2 separate regions of the Homo sapiens genome follow, and region 2 is linked to region 1. Evidence: promoter capture Hi-C in human tissues and cell types (Jung and others, 2019). All regions are on one chromosome and are shown on one strand. Each heading gives the region's core, a stretch centred on a gene start or on the middle of the fragment in contact. The rest is flanking DNA. Distances are from core to core; before and after follow the strand shown.

Region 1 (2,700 bases), core at 106-2,605:
ACCTTTCAGTGGGACAAGATGTGAAGGTGGAAGACAGTGATATTGATGATCCTGACCCCGTGTAGGTCTAGGCTAATGTGTGTGTGTTTGTCTTAATTTTTAACAAAAATGTTTAAAAAGTAAAAAGTAAATAATTTCAAAAATAGAAAAAGCTTATAGACTAAGTATATAAAGAAAGAAATATTTTTGTACAGCTATATAGTGTGTTTGTGTTTTAAGCTAAGTGTTATTAAAGAGTCAAAAAGTCACAAAAAAAGAAGTTTATAAGTTTAAAAAGTTACAGTAAGCTAAGGTCAATTTATTCTTGAAGAATGAAAATATATGAAAATAAATTTAGTGTTGCCTAAGTGCACAGTGTTGATAAAAGGTACAGTACTGCATAGTTGCGTCCCAGGCCTTCACATTCAACTCCCCACTCACTCACTGACTCACTCAGGGCAACTTCCAGTCCTGTAAGCTCCATTCATGGTAAGTGCCCTATAGAAGCATACCATTTTTTATCTTTGATTTTTTTTTTAATGGAATGCTTCAGAAATTCATGTGTCAACCTTGCTCAGGGGCTGTGCTAATCTCTGTATTGTTCAAATTGTCCTAGATGTGTTGCCAAAGCAATCACTTTTACACTGTTTTTGCTGTAGCTTTTCTATGTTTACATATATTTGTACACACAAATACCACTGTGTTACAATTGCCTACAGTATTTAGTACAGTGACATGCTGTACATCTTTGCAGCCTGGGAGCAATAGGTTACACCAAGTAGCCCAGGTGTGTAGTAGGCTACACCATCTGGGTTTGTGTAAGTACACTCTATGATGTTTGCACAACCACAGATATCACAGGGTCACCTAACGAGGCATTTCTCAGAAGTAGTCTTCATTAAGCTACCCTACGACTGTAATGAAACGCTAAGTTTTGAGCCAGGAATTTGTGTATAGAACACTAGGAATGGCTTCATTAGTATCATGCATCTTTTTCATTAAACTGTGAGTCCCTTTGAGAGAAAGATTGTGTCTCTGAACTTAGTGGCCTAAATTTCTAGAATTATGTCTTCAAAAAGTTGCCCAGTTAGGCGTCTCTGGGGAGTCAAAACCACAACTCCCAGAATGCCGTGCTCCCTTAGCGCGCTCAGGCGCGGGGAGAGAATGTCCCATCACCCACCGCGCCAGATCGAGACCACAGTTCCCACTACACCCAGGGACTCCGCGGAAAGCTATCAAACACCACCTGTTGCCATAGCATCCGGGTCGGGTGAACCAATCCGGGCGCCCTCGCCGAACAGAGGCGGGCAGTTCGCATCGCCGACCAACCTGAGGCGTTTTTGTTGTGGCGCGTGACCGGAGGAGGCGGGAGCTCAGGACCGGCGCCTTCTCCTTGCTTCTGGGGGTCGTGGCCTTGCTCCCGCTGTGCGGGAAAAGAATCCAGGCCCTTCCACGCGCGTGTGGGTGCGGGGGCCCCGAAGTGCTCGTGGTTCCCCGCTAGGTCTCCGCTGGGGCAGGAACCGGAATCATGGGTGGGACCACCAGCACCCGCCGGGTCACCTTCGAGGCGGACGAGAATGAGAACATCACCGTGGTGAAGGGCATCCGGGTGAGTGCCCGTGGACGGGCGGAGGGCCAGTGGTTGGACTCGGACCCCAAGGCCCCATCTTCTCCGGACCCGCTCAGCCTGGGTTTCTCCCGTCCTGGACCCTAGCGTATTAAGGCCAGAAGCCCAGGTGTCTGGGAAGAAGCCTAGAGTTTCAAGACGTGGGACATTCATTCAGAGATAGTTCCTGGTTGTGCCAAGTGCTAGGCACTGCTGGGGCGGGCGGGGAATGCCAGGTTGAATTATACCCTGCAAGGGCTCACAGTCTACTCGTAACTGTACTGCTCCCTTGTTGCAGGACCGTATTTGAAACCCATACCTCGGTGTACTTGTCTGTGAAATGGTTTTCCTGGGTTCAGGACCCAAACCCTGCTTTTCCACTGTGCACACCCTGTCTCCCAGGGTGAATTGGCATTTTAAGGATTGCCTTTGCTTTGTGTCATTTAGTGCTCTCCCTCTGATAACACCCCCTCCTCCCACCCACTCCCCACACCCTGTCATCCTCCCTCCCAGCCCCACAGTCTTTTCTGACCTGCCTGGGGCGGCTTCTGGCTTCTCCCTGCTTCACTTTCACTTGATATCTCCTCTTTCCCAGGCGCCTCCTCTGTGACCTGCTGCGCCGAAGTTTTGGATTAGGCCCAGTTGCTTCAGGACTAGTGTCTGCCAGTCTGATAGGGGCTGAGATGGGTTTGCAGTTTTTCATACCAGTAGAAGTAATGTAGTCATTTCTGACCAACGTTGTAGAGCACTTTTTTTTTAATGCCCTTTGCATGCACCTGATACATAAACTGAAAACCTGGTTTTTCTCTAGGGTGTCAGTATACCAGCACTAACTTCATTAACACACTCTCCGCTGCGCCTGAATTTGGAGCCTCACATTTTTGGACGTATGATGCCTGAACCTAGTAAATAAAGCAATTTTGACTTCAGAAAGTTTTATAATAATTTATATATTTTTTTCTGTTATCAACCAGCGTAAATAAATTACATTTGTAAATTATTTTTAACAGTTGTTACCAGGAAATAAAACTTCTTAAATATTTAAAATGTTTAAAAACTTTTTCTTCTGAAACTGTTACCTTGAGAATAATTTATTAAACTTTTCTTCATAGAAA
Region 2 (2,700 bases), core at 23-2,522, 340 kb after region 1:
ATGGGGTAACTTGCTTTGAGAAGTGTACAGAAATATGTAAATATAAACAGCCTTATCTTCCTGATGTGAGGATTTGCTGCATTCACCATTTCTCCTCTTCTGGGCGTATGTACAAGCCATTCACCTGCTTTGGGCATCTGCTTCCTAGCCTTCTTGCCATCTGGTCTTTCCTTCCTTCCAAATCTCGTGGCACAAAGCTCATACCTCTTCAGTAAGTCCTCTTTGATTAACTCCATCTCACCTGGATCGTCCTTGATGTTTTTCTCCAACGCCAGAATATGATGTTCTCTTTAAATTAAATACCATATACTTGTGTGTTTCTGCCAAGTGTTCATTCTGGCTTCTCATTAAATTGTTAGCTTTTGGAGGGCAGTGACTGGAGATTATTTCCCACATTTGCAGCAGGCATCAACAGCAAAGTCCTGTTCATCAGTGTGGACCACTAACTTGTCTTTACATCCCACGTGCATTTCTCACTGATCTTCACAAATTAGCATTACCCAAAAAGCAATCAAGTTTAGGATGTTTGTAGACATTTTCCTGCATGTATAACTCAGTCTTTTCCTTATTAAAGCAATGCCTGGCTCTCAAAGTTTTATTGGTATCAAAGTTTTAATTGAGTATCAGCCAGTGAGGGAGGGAACAGAAGCATTCATTTTTGGTTTTCATTCGCAGGAGTGTGTCTCCATCAGCACACCACTGAGATTTCAACATCGCTATCCTTCCTTCCTTCTCTTTCAAGTCATTCCAAGCCCAGCGATATTCGAAGGGATGAGTCATTGTCTAAATGTGGAGGCTGTCATTCTGCATGCACAACTGTGCTGGCTTGGGTACCATCCCAGTCTGTGATGGGAAGCATGGCTCTGACCTCACAGGGAAGAGAATTCTGAATGTAATCCTCTGTAAACTTAGAAGTGACATAAATCATGATTTGATCTTTTTTGGGGACTCAAGCTGATGCTCTGGGGATTTACATAATGAACAGACTGCTGCAGTGCAGTAGAAATAACACCATTCTTGGAGACAGGAGACCTCAGTTGGAGTCTAGCTCTTGCACTCACTAGTTGTGTGACCTTGGGAAAGCCATGTTACCCCTCTGGACCTCAGAGAGGAAGCAGGTTAAACTGGATCATCTTAAAGTTAGTTTCCATAAGGACCCAAAATTCTACTGAAAGTTATAAGATAATGCGAACCTAATCAACAAGGACTTTGTAATGTTTTCTTGGTCTCCTAATGTTTCTGCTGATCTGGAGAGGTGGTGGGGAGAGGGAGACTCTTCGGGAGTAACTTTCTGGATGTCTAGCAGATACATATGTAACAGGTTGTGAAAGGAAACCAGAAATGAGAGTGGAAATGGGGAAAGAGATGAAAGAAAAGTAGAAAAGAGGACGTTCTGTGTTTCCCTCCACACTGCCATCCCTCTGGTTAATTGTAGGTTTCTGACTGCTTCCAAGCTATCCAGGGTAGTTACTGATATCATGCAAGGCACAGGGTGTGAACCTGCATCAGCCCCAATTCAGGGCTGGGATGATCCCCCAAATCATTGTGTTTCAGGGACAAATGTTTATGGGCATTCTGTCTGCCCTGAGAGGCTAAACCCACTGACCTGGGACACTCAGGTGTTGAGCCCTAGTCCTAAATTGTGGCTTTCTTGATTATTACTTGTCAGGGTTATTGTTTCTTAAACCTGCCTTCCGAAAGAAGTGTCTTGTGACAAAACCAGCCTGGAAAATATGCTGGGTTGGATGAAATCAAACAGATTTCTACATTGCAAGGTTTCTTAGAGTCTTTTATTGCTAAATGTATACTGCGTATACTGCTAACATCTAAGAGGGGAGTATAATATGCAACATTTCTTAAACTTATTTGATCATGCAGACCCCTCCACTCAAACTCAACCTCTATTTATTTACTTACAAGACTTCTAATAGACCTCTGAGAAGCAGCTTTTTGGGAAATACTGCTCTAAGTTGATGACTGTCTAGAATGTTCCACCCTAAACCTCATCCCTTTGGGAGGTCAGTCCTGATTAAGTCCAGGAGGATGGATGAGTCAGGGCTGACAGTGCCATTCCTGGCACCATTCCTCTTTAATGAAAACCTGAAAACCAAGAAAGGAGATTGGACCACGTGTTCAAACAAAGGCTATGTGAGTCAAGTGAGTGTTATATTAGGGATCCTGCATCCATATGACTTTCAAAGCCCCAGATGCTTTCCACAAGATGAAATAGTTAGAAGCGATTTCATCCACTCCTAGCCCCCACCACCACCCCTGCCTCGCCCTCCCCAGGCCCCATCTGAGATGTCAGTCACCCGCCTGGCATTCCCAACAAGCCTGTTTGTGAGTGCCTCAGTGATAGGAGGCTTCCTGTATTCATTACATCTTTGAATGGCTCTGTTTAGTGAAAGTCTTGCCATAGACAACTCCTCAAAAGAATTTTGCTCCCTGGGAGAGACTCTTTTCCCATTCATTTCTTAACAGATATTTATTGAGCACTTACAATGAGTAGGAAATAATGAGTGATCAAAGGTATAGAACAGTATCCTGACCTCAGGAAGCAAGGAAGACATGTACACAAAGAAATAGGAGGGTGCTTATGGCTGGAGGTGAGAAAGTGCTGGGAGTATCAGAGAAGGGAGAGACCAATTTCTGCTAAGGTACCCAGAGAAGCTTTAAAGAGCGGGCAGCCTCTGAACCATG

What was found. Contacts are between HindIII fragments. The study calls those that stand out against the background at their distance.
Region 2: a fragment that was not itself captured here is called in contact with the fragment with the promoter of CHCHD3 in region 1 in 2 of the 25 tissues and cell types used here (dorsolateral prefrontal cortex and hippocampus).

The regions. Positions count from the first base shown.
Region 1 is chr7:133,080,745-133,083,444 of GRCh38, reverse strand. CHCHD3 (coiled-coil-helix-coiled-coil-helix domain containing 3) reads left to right here and starts at 1,355. Exons shown (of 8, transcript NM_017812.4): 1 at 1,355-1,588. The coding sequence starts at 1,508. It also overlaps the pseudogene RNU6-92P. RefSeq lists enhancers at 1,073-1,182, 1,393-1,572, 988-1,622. The HindIII fragment of the contact is 7,286 bases long and covers 1-2,700 here.
Region 2 is chr7:132,737,829-132,740,528 of GRCh38, reverse strand. No RefSeq gene overlaps it. Among named protein-coding and RNA genes, the nearest start is that of FLJ40288, 90 kb to the right of the region's middle. RefSeq lists an enhancer at 1-99. The HindIII fragment of the contact is 3,867 bases long and covers 1-2,700 here.